2 separate regions of the Homo sapiens genome follow, and region 1 is linked to region 2. The links are contacts of gene promoters, found by promoter capture Hi-C in human tissues and cell types (Jung and others, 2019). All regions are on one chromosome and are shown on one strand. Each heading gives the region's core, a stretch centred on a gene start or on the middle of the fragment in contact. The rest is flanking DNA. Distances are from core to core; before and after follow the strand shown. Region 1 overlaps ENDOV (endonuclease V). Region 2 holds the start of EIF4A3 (eukaryotic translation initiation factor 4A3).

Region 1 (6,622 bases), core at 225-2,724, 280 kb before region 2:
AGGCATGTGCCACCACGCCCGGCTAATTTTTTGTATTTTTAGTAGAGATGGGGTTTCACCATGCTAGCCAGGATGGTCTCGATCTCCTAATCGCGTGATCCACCCACTTCGGCCTCCCAAAGTGCTGGGATTACAGGAGTGAGCCACCGCAACCGGCCCAGGTCTCTTTATTTTTAAAACCCAGTCACTGGGCCAGGAAAGGGAAGGGGACTGATCTTGGAGGTGAGCCACAGCCCAGGCAAAGCCACACCACCTGAGACGACACTGAGCGTGCAGGCGGTGAAGTGGTCTTGTCCCTGAGCTGAGGGTGCTGCCCACAAGACCCTGTTCAAACCTGATGATGGGGCTTAGAACAAGGGCAACAATCTGCCCAGGGCCGCTGTGCCAGGCTGGCAGCCACACAGGTGCCGCCACTGCCCAGTGATGGGTGCTGAGCCCGCTTCCTTCCTGTGGCTTCTCTCCTGCTTTGGGCACATCTGACACAGCTCAACAGGCTGGTATTTCTGGCGGCGGTGGACTGGCTCATTGAGTGGGTCTAAGGTCCCCATCAACTCAACAGATTTTTATTAAGCAACTTCTCCATGCAGGCACCTGAGAGCTAGGAGGAATGAGAGACACAGTCTCTGCTCTCAGAATCTGCCATCCAGTGAAACAGCTGGGGGTGTCAACAGCTCCCTCCATTGTGAGTGTCTCACTCCCAGTGCCAACATGGGGTCCCAGAGGAGGAAGATGCAGGGGAAGGTGAGGTAGGAAGAGTGTGGGTGGCAGCTCCAGGCAGGTCTTGGCGGGAGGGGGGCCTGGAGGCTGTGGTACCTGAGCATGCAGGGGAGGAGACAGGGGCTGGGGCAAGGCGGGGTGGGGAAAGCACCAAGTGCGCCCGGGACAGCCTGGAAGCCCGTCCTGTCCCCAGTAACTGGAGGACTTAGCCCTACTTGGTGTGCCACGGTGGCTCAGAGGCAAGGGGGACCAGAGAGGCAGGCACACCCAGGAGGCAGGAGAGGAGCTCAGAGCGCCCTCAGCTGAGACAGGCAATGCAGCACCCAGAGGAAAGCAGGTCTTTCTTACTCCAGGCCACAAGCCAGGGATGAGGAGGGCAGCGTCAGCAGGCAAGGGCTGGTCCAGAAGTGTCCTCATGCCCAGGGCCACCACAGCCCCGCCACTGAGCTGCCGGGCATGGCCTGCAGCAGGCCCCTCCTCACCTTCTCCTTGTGCAGGGCGTTGTTCTCCAGCCCATCCACCTGCAGAAGTTTCTTGGCCACCCCAACACACGGCAGGTCTGTAAGGACGCCAAGGTGGCAGGCCACCCCAAAGCCTGCCAGAGAGAAAGGAGGGTGGGGTTGGGGAGGTGGGGCTGGGGCCTGGCACAGGGATTCAGGACAAGCCAGTCTTACCAAAAGCTTCCCTAAGTGAGCAGAGGTCTGTGGACAGGCAGAGGGCTGGGGAAACCAGATCTAAGTCCCAAGCAGACCTGGGCGAAAGCCCCCTGTGCCCGATGTCCTGGGTGCAAGGCCGTGGAGGAAGCCTCCTTCTCTCTGACACGGTCAGTGCCAGGGTCAGCACCTCGCTGGCGTGCTGGGATACTGCAGCTCTCCGGTCATTTCCTGCACCTCCCAGCTTCCTCTTCCCTCGACGGTGGCCTGCCAGCGCTGGCACGAGCATGTGGGTCGGCACATGACAACCCTTTGGCTCTGCACCCATGTGCGAGGGCAGCAGCCAGGGCCGAGTCACACTTGCTGGCCAGGAAGGCCCAATGTCACCCCTCCTGGGCCCTCTCTGGGTGCTGCTGCGCCGCCCGCAGCTCTGTATGTAACAGTAAAAGAGCCCATCTCCCTAGGCCGGGCGCGGTGGCTCACGCCTGAAATCCCAGCACTTTGGGAGGCCGAGGCAGGCGGATCACGAGGTCAGGAGATCAAGACCATCCTGGCTAACACGTGAAACCCCGTCTCTCCTAAAAATACAAAAAAATTAGCCGGGCGTGGTGATGGGCACCTGTAGTCTCAGCTACTCAGGAGGCTGAGGCAGGAGAGTGGCATGAACCCGGGAGGCGGAGGTTGCAGTGAGCCGAGATCGCGCCACTGCACTCCAGCCTGGGCGACAGAGCGAGACTCCGTCTCAAAAAAAAAAGAGCCCATCTCCCTCAGCCACGCTCCCTAGGCCAAGGTTCCTGGCATCAGTGGGGGCCTGGGTACACCTGTCTAGTTGTGGACAAGGGGCCTGACGGGCCATGCAGGTTGGGCGGCTGGCAGGGAAGGCCACTCTGAGCCCGGGCCCTGGGACATCTTTTGGTGATCAGGTCAGAACTGGATAGTGGCACCTGGAGATGAGCCAGCACAGGGCACTGTAGAGAAGGCAGTGGCGGACAGGAAAGAGGTAAGGGGTGAAGCGAAAGTAGACAGTCCTTTACCGGCGGTGGGGGAGGCGGGGCTGAGCGCACTGCGCGTCCCCGTTGCGCCGAGAAAGAAGCCATTGGAGGGGGCTGGCGGCAGAGGCCGAGGGCCCAGCATTTTCTGTGGGGGACGACAGAGGTGCCCTCTCCCCCCGCTCTTCCCCACAGTGCCCTCCCTGGACCTCCAAGAGCAGGATTACCTCGGTGGTGGAGTACCCCGTTTCCATCCACAAGAAGGACCTATGGAGCCACAGGGAGAGTCACAGTCAGCTGAGCTGCCCCTCGGCCCTCAGGACAGGGCCATCCCTGAGGCAAGAAGGGGGCACTGTCTCTGGGGTCCAGCTTTTTAGAAATCCTCATTCCTCTCTTCCAGGAAGCTCATGAGTCTCTCCCTGCCACTGTGGTGGTGGCGACCTGCAGCAGCCTTCCCTCCCCCAGGGGGAAGGAGGGACCTTTCTCTCGTCCTAGGGATGAGACACCTGCCTGGGGCATGAGGCCCGGCTCCTTCTCCCGCAGCTGCTGCACCAGCTCCAGCAAGAAGGGCACCTCTCGGAAGGCCAGGAAGCCCGACACGTAGGGGGCTGTGAGGCTGACCATGCGGCTCTCCTCATACACCACCTGACACCAGGCACGCAGCTCAGTGGGAAGCACAGCCTTCGGCCACCTGCTCCATCCCCAGTCCGTCCATGCCCTGCCCCCCTCATCCTTCCCTCTCCCTTACGTCACCCTCATGGCTCCCCTTCCCTGCCTCACCTATGAGATGATGGGTTTGGAAGAAGGAACTAGAAGATGTACCCTGCAAATTGGTGGTGGGCAGGTACCCCCGGGACCTGGTCCATAGGAGCAGACCCCCCCAGGACCTGGTCCGTAGCAGCAGCTCCCCCGGGACCTGGTCTGTAGCAACAGCACCCCCACCCCGCCCCCACCGGGACCTGGTCCATAGCAGCAGCCCCCTGGGACCCGGTCCATATGAGAACCCCCACCCCGGACCCGGTCCACTGGAGGAGCCCCAACTCCCAGACCTGATGTGTATAGTAGGAGCCCCTGGGACCTGGTCCATAGGAGGATTCCCTGGTATCTGGTCTGTATGAGGAGCCCCCAGGACCTGGTCCATAGGAGGATTCCCCGGGATCTGGTCTGTATGAGGATTCCCCGGGACCCGGTCCATAGGAAGATTCCCCGGGATCTAGTTCATAGGATGAGCCCCTGAAGCCTAGACTGTAGAAGGATTCCCTGGAATCTAGTCCATAGGAGGAGCCTCCGGGACCTGGTCCATAGGAGGATTCCCTGGGATCAGGTCCGCGGGAGCCCCCCAGGACCTGGTCTTCATCAGAAGCAAGGCTAAGGCTGCTGGCTGCATCACCTCTGCCTGCCCCTTGCTTTCCTGGTGTCTCCTCCTTTGTGTATTGAAGCCGATGCCCCACCCCACCCCTCCATGGGTTGTTGGAGGCTTAAAGAAGACACAGTGTTGGCCAGGCGTGGTGGCTCACGCCTGTAATCCCAGCACTTTGGGAGGCCGAGGCGGACGATCACCTGAGGTTGGGAGTTCAAGACCAGCCTGACCAACATGGAGAAACCCCGTGTTTACTAAAAATACAAAATTATCTGGGCGTGGTGGCGCATGCCTGTAATCCCAGCTACTCGGGAGGCTGAGGCAGGAGAACTGCTTGAACCCAGGAGGCAGAGGCTGCAGTTTAGAGCACAACATGGCAGGCCTGAGTCTCCTAACCTTGTGTTTTCCTTAGTCACACTGCCCTTAATGTGAAGACGTTTCCCACTATGTCCACATTCTGCAGACCTGTCTACCTTCCTGCAGTTTTGTTACTGAATCCCCCAAATCTCTTGGTGACAGCTTTCAAATCACAACTTCCACTCCTCACTTGTGGCTGGATCAATAATTAAACACACCAAAGCAGACGGAGTGCTCTGTATTAGCACAGAGGGTTGGGGATCATTCTCACAACATCTTCATCAATGACTCAATGGGGAAACTGATCAAATCTGCCCATGACCCAAAGTGGGGAGGGTCCATTCTGATAACAGAATTTGGGTTCACAGAGAAGCCAGCAGGCTGGATCACTGACATCCCCACAGAGTAAAAGTCACTTTGCACAGTGACATGTGGAATTCAAGTGTGGCCTGAGTTCCCACAGGAGGGGCGTGGCTGCTTACATCTGAATCTCTCCCATAATGTTATCATTCAGGTGACATTATGGGATGACTATGATGTGTAATCAGTATGATAATGACACTGTGGCTGTGGAGGAGAATGTCATTCTCAGGACAGGCCTGCTGATGTCTTCTGAGCTGTCACAGTCGCTGGGATGTACGGTACACACGCACACAAAGAGCGCATGTGCGCGAGAGAGAATATTCCAGAGCAGCAACAGCTGAACCTAAGTAGAAGGAATACAGGTGTCCAACGTATCCTTTTCCAATTTGGGGGGATGTATGTACATTTTCAAATTAAAAATCTGGGAAAAGAAAAATCACTGTATGATTAGCGTAGGGGGCAGGTCTGGATGACCAGCAATCTCAACATAAGCCAGTGACCTGGTGCCCCTCAAAAGCTACCAGTGTTTCCAGCTACACCGACTGAAATGGCGTGGGTGACAGTTAGGTCTAGGGACTTGGGTAGACCACATCCAAGTTCCTGCATTTGATTCTGAGTGCAGACGGAAAGATGGATTGTGTGAACGGAGGGCATGACCAGAGGGCCACTGACCAGTGAAGAAGCTGGACGTCATCGCAGCCTCTTGGGACAGTGTGGTCAAGGAGCAGGCAGCTGTTTCCAGCAGCAGAAGGGCTGACAAGCAGAAGGCAGGGAAGATCCGTTCTGTTTTGCTACCTGAAGGCAGAACTGATCGATGGGAGTCACAGACAAGTAGGAGTCAGCTCCCTGCGGAGCAGAACACACTAGCCATTGCTCAGCGTCCAGCACACAACAGGCTCCACCAGGCCTGTGGAGCAGCACACACCAGCCATCGCTCAGCATCTGGCATGGAATGGGCTCCGCCAGAGGCCTGCGGAGCAGCACACACCAGCCATGGCTCAGCATCTGGCACAGAACGGGCTCCGCCATCGTTTGTCAGGGATGCTAAGGACAGTGTTCTTCACGGTGGGAAAAGCAGGCCAGTGGTTCTCCAGCCCAGCTCTGCTTCAGAATCACAGGAAAGCTTATTTTAAAAAGCAGATTCTTATGCTATACTCTGGGAGAGTTTTTCCCCCAGTAAGTGGGGTAGGGCTCTGGAATCTGTTTTTTTTTTTTTTTTTTTGACAGAGTCCTGCTCTGTTGCTCAGGCTGGAGTGCACTGACGCGATCTCGGCTCACTGCAAGCTCCGCCTCCCAGGTTCACGCCATTCTCCTGCCTCAGCCTCCCGAGTAGCTGGGACTACAGGTGCCCGCCACCATGCCCGGCTGATTTTTTTTGTATTTTTAGTAGACACAGGGTTTCACCGTGTTAGCCAGGATGGTCTCGATCGCCTGACCTCGTGATCCAGCCGCCTCAGCCTCCCAAAGTGCTGGGATTACAGGCATGAACCACTGCGCCCGGCCTGTTTTTTTTCCTAACAGGTTTACTGAGATACAATTAACATACCATAAAGTTCACTTGTTTAAAACATATAATGCGATGGTTTTGGTATTTACAGAGTTGTGCAATATCACTACAATCTAACTTTAGAACATTTTCCTTAACCCCTAAATAAACCTCATCCTCATCAGCAGTCACTTCCCATCCATCCCACCCCAACTCCAAGGCCCAAGGATCCACTTTCTGTCTCTGTGGATGTGCCTACGGAATCTGTTTCTCAACACACTTCTGGGTGATTCTGCTCCTGCAGGTCCACGGTCGGGCATTCAGGAACCAGTGGACCAGACTGTTCCAAGATCCTTTCCTAGTCTAAGCTTTCATAGCCGGAACAATGAATACCGACGAAGTAGCAGGTGCTTTGCTTGGTGCTGGGGTTGTAAAAGAAATATGGTACACCCTACTCTTGAGAACCTACAGTCAGTGGGAAAAATGGAATCATAAATGACTAACTTTAATACAATGTGAGAAGCGCTCTAACAGCATGTGCATTCAAAAGAGGCCCAGGATGCAGATGAGGTGATTAATTTGCAGCCAGGAGAAGTTGGAGGGGGAAGGGAATGCTGTGTTAACTGCTTTCCATGCATTTCATGTACTGCTCATCACAATTCTGTGAGCTGGATATTAATACCACTATCATCCTCAA
Region 2 (7,194 bases), core at 2,916-5,415:
CGTTTTCTAAAGCCTTTTTGGCAACAGGGATGGGTTTTGTGGAAGACAAATGTATTATTCCATTTTCATACTGCTATAAAGAACTGTCCGAGACTGGGTTATTTATAAAGGAAAGAGGTTTAATTGACAGTTCAGCATGGCTTGGGAGGCCTCAGGAAACTTACAATCATGGCAGGAGGTGAAGGGGAAGCAAGGCACCTTCTTCACAAGATGGCAGGAAGGGAAAAGTGCCAAGCAAAGGGGGAAGAGCCCCTTATAAAACCATCAGATCTCGAGACAACTATCAAGACAACAGCATGGGGGACTCATCCCCGTGATTCAATTACTCCACCTGGCTTCTCCCTCGACACGTGGGGATTATAGGGATTATGGGATTACAATTCAAGATGAGATGTGGGTGAAGACACAAAGTCTAGCCACGTCAACAACTTTTCCACAGGTGGTGGAAAAAAATTCTTCCAGAGATGGATGGGGTAGTGGTTTCGGGATGAAACTATTCCACCTCCCATCATCAGGCATTAGATTCTCATGAGGAGTGCACAACCTAGATCCCTCGCATGTGCAGTTCACAACAGGGTTCACACTCCTCTGAGTCCAGTGCTGCTGCTGACAGCAGGCAGAGCTCAGTTTAGCTCCCTTGCTTGCCTCCTGCTGCACCGCCTGGTTCCTAACAGGCCACAGACAGGTGCTGATACTGGTCCGTGGCCTGGGGTTTGGAGATTCCTGCTCTAAAAAGTGGATTTACCCTCATCATCCCAGGGCCCCTCAGCCTCTAAGAAAAGAGGCCTCTTGGTCACAAAGGTGGACAGACCCATTAAGCTCTGGGTGAGCAACCCCGTCTCCAGCACCTCATGTCCCACAATGTTTGTGTGTTGGGGAGGGGTCCATCTCACGCGATTAATCTCAAGGCAGGAGAGCCCATGTCTGTTTTATGCCCCATTGTTTCCCTAGAAAGCATCGTTCACCCAGAGACTGCAGCAAACCTCAGCAGCTCTCATCATTGTCACATTGTCATAGACTCTGGGCTAAAAAGCTACTGCTCCCCAGAAAAGTTAGAGCCCTTTAAGATGTGTGTTCAGACACCTGGCATAAACAACATTTCCAGAAAAATGGTGTAAAATGTTAGATCATCTAGTCATAAAAATATGAAGGAAAACAAATCTAAGCAGTTTGTGGATTAGATTTTAACTTTGAACAAGGTGAGAGGCCTGGTAGCTCACACCTGTGATTCCAGCACTTTGAGAGGCTGAGGTAGGAGGATCGCTTGAGCTCCTGGGCTGGGGCCAGGATGTACGGTCCTCAGTAAGGCTTCTGAATAAAACTAACTTTAATTCTTTAAAAGCTTAACTGTTTTTCTTTAGTCAACAAGGTATTTTACATTCTTCTCCTACGTTAAGTCATTGAAATCTGTGTGTATTTTACGACAAAGCGCTACAGCACGGCCTGGCAAACAGTGTGAGGCACGAAATGATCCTTTGTAGAGTGAGGAAGGTATCAGAACTTACATTTTATTCAGCTTTATAAATATTTAATATTTTGGGTAACACCAGCATCCTTACAAGGAATGTTTATCAGAAGGTCAATTATCTGTCATGGATAAATTCTGGTGCCAGAATGAGATTCACTCTTGGAGAAGGCTGCATTTACTTGTTCACCCTTGAAATACTGCAATCCACCGACTTCTTGATAAAAGGATGCTCTGGTTTTCTGTTTATTTTTGAGATGGAGTCTCTGTCGCCCAGGCTGGAGTGCAGTGGCGCAATCTCGGTTCACTGCAACCTCCACCTCCGGGGTTCAGGAGATTCTCCTGCCTCAGCCTCCAGAGTAGCTGGGACTACAGACACCCGTCACCACGGCCAGCTAATTTTTGTATTTTTTTTTTAGTAGAGATGGGGTTTCACCATTTTGGCCAGGCTGTTCTCGAACTCCTACACTCATGATCCGTCTGCCTCGGCCTCCCAAAGTGCTGGGATTACAGGCGTGAGCCACCAGGCCTGGCCAGGATGCTCTGGTTTTAACTAAAATTAACCTTCATAAAAGGAGAGCTTTTCAAGCACTCCTAGAAAGAAGCTGTGGATTAAAGATGTGCCCAGCGATGCAAGCCAGATTTGTGACCATAAGAAAGGACAGGACCGGGCTCATGCCTGTAATCCCAGCATTTTAGGAGGCTGAAGCGGGCAGATCATGAGGTCAGGAGTTCAAGACCAGCCTGACCAACACGGGGAAACCCCATCTCTACTAAAAATACAAAAATTAGCCGGGCGTGGTGGTGCATGCCTGTAATCCTAGCTACTCAGGAGGGTGAGGAAGGGGAGTCGCTTGAACCGGGAGGCAGAGGTTGCAGTGAGCCAAGATTGCGCCACTGCACTCCAGCCTGGGGAACAGAGCGAGACTCTGTCACACACACACACACACACACACACACACACACACAAAATAGCGGGGCGCGGTGGCTCACGCCTGTAATCCTAGCACTTTGGGAAGCCGAGGTGGGCGGATCATGAGGTCAAGAGATCAAGACCATCCTGGCCAACATGGTGAAACCCGGTCTATACTAAAAATACAGAAAATTAGCTGGGCGTGGTGGCGCGTGTCTGTAGTCCCAGCTATTTGGGAGGCTGAGGCAGGAGAATGGCGTGAACCTGGGCGACAGAACTTGCAGTGAGCTGAGATCGCGACACTGCACTCCAGCCTGGGCGAACCGAGCAAGACTCCGTCAAAAAAAAAAAAAAAAAAAAAAAAAAAAAAGGACAGAGCTGGCGCTCGTGGAAATACAATTTTCCCAAAGTTAAAAACATGATTCTCAACAGCATGAACTGCCCTTCAAAGATGATGGAGCTGCTTCAAAAGGCGTTAGAGGAGCTGGGTACGAAGAAGCACTTAAAGTGTCAGATAAGAAAGCGGTTAGTGGCTGCGCGTGGACACCTGTGGTCCCAGGTGCTCTGGAGGCTGAGGCGGGAGGATCGCCTGTGCTCGGGAGGTGGAGGCTGCAGTGAACCGAGATCGCGCCATGGCACTCCAGCCTGGGCGACAGGGCCAGACTGTCTCAAAACAAACAAACGAACAAACAAAAAGCAGGTTAAGATGCACAACTGGTTAAAGTTCTGCTGGGCAATTAAAAAATGATCCCGTCTGGGTTATCTTTGCTGCAGGACACGCATTAGCAGCACCGTCTACTGACAAGTGGCCTTCATTAAGAGCAAATTGCAGGCTCAGCATGTATTTTATTTATAACAGCTGCTTGCCGGGCACAGTGGCTCATGCCTGTAATCCCAGCACTTTGGGAGGCCAAGGCAGGCGGATCACCTGAGGCCCCGCAGTTCAAGACCAGCCAGGACAACCCTAACCCCCGCCTCCCCCAACCCCGTCTCTACAAAAAAATTTAAAAAATTAGCCGGGCGTGGTGGCGCGCGCCTGAGGTCCCAGCTACTCCAGAGGCTGAGGCGGAGGCTACAATGAACCCTGATCCTACCACTGCACTCCAGCCTGGGCGACGGAGCGAGACCCTGTCTCCAACTCACCAGGCAAACGGTGAAGACACACCCAGGCGCGTCCCCTAAGAGGGACGCCGGCTTCAGGGGCCCTGGCCCTCCCCAGCGCAGACCCGCCGGAGCCCAGCGCCGCGCCGGGGCCCACCACCGGCGGCCGTGAGGGTTTCCACTCGAATCTCCCCGGCGAGCTGGGCGCCTCCACTACGGGTCTGCGACGCAGTCCACCCACTGCGGGCCCGAGAGAGGACCCGTGCTCGTCATTTTTATTCGAGGCGGGGCTATCTGGGGACCCCGCCCGGAGCGGAGGCCCCTCGCGGCCCCAGCCTGTTTCCAGGGAATTCAGGTCCACACGCCGCTCAAAGAACCTCAGCGCCCCAGTCCGCGAAATCCCGCGGCCGGTACGAAACACCGCCAACTTTAGAAGTACCACCCCCTCCATCCCTTTCGTAAGGAACTGGGTGCCCCGCCCTCAACGAGATCCCGCGGGAACTGCATATGGCGCGAGAGCAGAAACACCTTACTTTTCCCTGCGGCAAACGCCCAGTTCCCTTTCACGTGACGAAGAGTGCCCCGTCCCCCAGAGGCGTGGCCGCGTCGCGCGTACGCACGTACGCACGTACGCACGCACGTCTCTCGCTTTCGCATACTTAAGGCGTCTGTTCTCGGCAGCGGCACAGCGAGGTCGGCAGCGGCACAGCGAGGTCGGCAGCGGCACAGCGAGGTCGGCAGCGGCACAGCGAGGTCGGCAGCGGCAGCGAGGTCGGCAGCGGCACAGCGAGGTCGGCAGCGGCAGCGAGGTCGGCAGCGGCGCGCGCTGTGCTCTTCCGCGGACTCTGAATCATGGCGACCACGGCCACGATGGCGACCTCGGGCTCGGCGCGAAAGCGGCTGCTCAAAGAGGAAGACATGACTAAAGTGGAATTCGAGACCAGCGAGGAGGTGGATGTGACCCCCACGTTCGACACCATGGGCCTGCGGGAGGACCTGCTGCGGGGCATCTACGCTTACGGTGAGCGGGCGCGGGCCGCGGGGGCCAGCCGGGGGCGAGTCGGGGGCGAGCCGGGGGCTGAGGGCCAGACTGGTGACTCCCGGGCCGGCCCTGCGCTCCGGAGGTCGTGGTCAGGGTCGAGGCTCGGGGGCCAGTGACGTCCGACCCCCACCCCCACCCCCGTCCTCGCCCTCACGCCTGGCTGTGTCGGCGCTTTCGGTGTGTGTCCCCCGTGCAGAGCTCGGCGCTGGGTCTGTCGGGGGCTGCAGCCGCTTCGAGGCACCTCAGCGTCCTTCATTCAGCAGATAACTGATTTCTACCTATTAGCTTTTCTAGGTACTGGGGTTTTGGCGGTAAACCGGAAGGGTTTGCGCCTTTACGGGTTTTGAATTTCGTTTGGGGGGAAAGCATACTGTCAGGTTGCCCAGGCAACCTGAAGAACCTGAAGCGGGGTAATTGAATAGAGTGGGACTGGGAAGGAGGAGAGAATTAGTAAAGCAGAGAGGTAAGGGGGTTCGCAGGAGGGGGTGCCATTTGAGCAGAGTTCTGGATGAAGGAGACTGTTATGAGAAGAGGGAAGAGCAGTTGGGGCAGAAGGAACAGCTGGTGCCAGGGCCTTGCAGCCCTTAGCCAGCTGCATTCCAGGAACTGAAAGAAGTCCCCTGTGGTGGGATTTTGGAGAGCTAGTCGGGGCAGATCTAGCAAAGACGTGTAGGGTGACGAATAATTTGAATTTCATTTAGAAATCTAGTGGGAAGCCAGTGGAAGGTTTTAAGTAGCTATGTGACACGATCACATTTACAGTTTTAAAGATTCTTCTGGGTGTCTGTAGATTTGAGGTGAGGCGAGGCAAGGCAGGAGAGGAAACAAGAGAGTTGGGAGCTTTTGCTGCAGTTCAGGGAAGAGAGGATTGTGCTGCCTTGGAGATGGAGTACCAGGGAGCTGACAGCATTGGCTGATGGATTGAACGTGAGTGACAGAAGGAGGAGAGTTGGAGTGTTTTGAGTAACCGGTGGTTGATGCTGCAAACATTTGGCTAGGTAGGCAGCACTCCAGAGAGTCAGAATCAGGAGCTGTCTCTTGGTATGTTTGAAAGATGTGAGGAAGTTGAGGGAGAGCCTGGAGAAGAGGTTGGGTTGGGCACATAGATGGGAATGACCAGCATCTGGGATAAATGGCCTGTGTTTAATGCTTGGGACAGGGACATTTTTTATCCTGTAGTTCTCTTCCTTTTCTTTCTTCCTTTTCCTTCTGACAGTCCTGCTCTTGTCACCAAGGCTGGAGTGTAGTGGCATGATCTCAGCTTATTGCAACTTCCACTTCTGGGGCTCAAGCGATTCCTTTGCCTCAGCCTCCCGAGTAGCTGGGATTATAGGTGTGGGCCACCACGTCCTACTAATTTTTGTATTTTTAGTAGGGAGGGGATTTTGCCATGTTGCCCAGGCTGGTCTTGAACTCCTGACCTCAGTGATCCACCAGCCTCAGCCTCCCAAAGTGATGGCATTACAGGTGTGAGCCACCCCACCTGGCCGTATCCTGTAGTTCTTGATGCCACAACAGTTTGGACAAAGTGAAGCGAAGTTGCTGAGGATGCGTGGTGAAAAAGCATCTCAGGCAGCCTCACAGTGAGGCTGACAGCCCCACCTGGTTTCCTGGCACTCAGGCAGTCCCTGCCCTAAGACACTGTTGTTAGTTTCCCATCTATGTGCTTGCTCTTCATGAAGAGTTTAAATCATCTGCTATATTTGCATTTGTGTTAAGATGGGAAATTGTGCTACATTTTCTTTTGTTTCTTATTTTTCGCTATGCCCCAGAACTGAGCAGAGCTACATTTAAGAGACTACCAAAAAATAATTGAAATAGAGTTTTTGTACATAAAATTTTATTTACTTGAAAAACACGTGGTTCTTCTTCAAAATAGCCTCACCCTTTGGTGTAGTAGTTGCTTTGCAAGAGAGATGGTGTGATGGTGTTGTAGTTAGTGAGCTGCATCCAGACAGAACAACATAGGACACCCTGCAGCGTGACCCACGCAGGTTAAACAGAGTTGTAGACCTGTCAGCAACACACAGACTTAATGCTAGCTAGTAGGAGAGAACAATGGCTAGAGTGACTTTCCTGTTTTTTTGTTGTTTTTTTTTTTAATTTAAAAAGTAGTATAGGTTGTTTGTAATCCAGTCAAACCTAAGGGAGTAATTAGAGTAAAAAGTAAGTTTCTTTCCACCCCTCTACTGCAGTAACTGCCAGGAACATTTTGGCACTTACACTTCCAGATGCTGCACACCCAGATTTTTTTTTTTTTTTAAACAAAACTGTTGTCTATATTCTACAATTTGGTGGTTTTTTAAAAATAGAGATTGGTCTTTACAAATAATATCCCACGTTAGTGTAGAAATCACTCAGCCCAATTCATTGAGCCCCTGGGTTTTGAGAGCTTGCTATGTTGAACACTGGGTTAGGCTGGAGGACAGGTTCAAAAAACAAACCATGTCTGCCCCTGAGGAGCTCACAGTACAGGGTTTCTATGCTGTCATTGTGGTGAGGGCTAATTTTTTGTTTTTATTTGCAGGTTTTGAAAAACCATCAGCAATCCAGCAACGAGCAATCAAGCAGATCATCAAAGGGAGAGATGTCATCGCACAGTAAGTTGTCCTGGGGTGCGGCGCAGGGCTGGATGTAAATTTGGGCAGCGCAGTGCAGTTAGATGCTCTGGGA

Evidence for each region. The method cuts DNA at HindIII sites, captures the fragments that hold promoters and counts their contacts. A contact is called where the count stands out against the background at its distance.
Region 1: a fragment that was not itself captured here is called in contact with the fragment with the promoter of EIF4A3 in region 2 in 2 of the 25 tissues and cell types used here (bladder and lymphoblastoid cells).

The regions. Positions count from the first base shown.
Region 1 is chr17:80,418,210-80,424,831 of GRCh38, reverse strand. It overlaps ENDOV (endonuclease V), which reads right to left. Exons shown (of 10, transcript NM_173627.5): 3 at 2,870-3,004; 4 at 2,587-2,626; 5 at 1,200-1,312. MIR4730 (microRNA 4730) reads right to left here and starts at 5,414; the gene lies at 5,339-5,414. The HindIII fragment of the contact is 8,908 bases long and covers 1-5,928 here.
Region 2 is chr17:80,144,099-80,151,292 of GRCh38, reverse strand. EIF4A3 (eukaryotic translation initiation factor 4A3) reads left to right here and starts at 4,165. Exons shown (of 12, transcript NM_014740.4): 1 at 4,165-4,500; 2 at 7,049-7,121. The coding sequence starts at 4,332. RefSeq lists enhancers at 2,084-2,796, 2,797-3,510, 3,511-4,223, 4,224-4,938 and silencers at 3,507-3,696, 4,537-4,586. The HindIII fragment of the contact is 11,065 bases long and covers 1-7,194 here.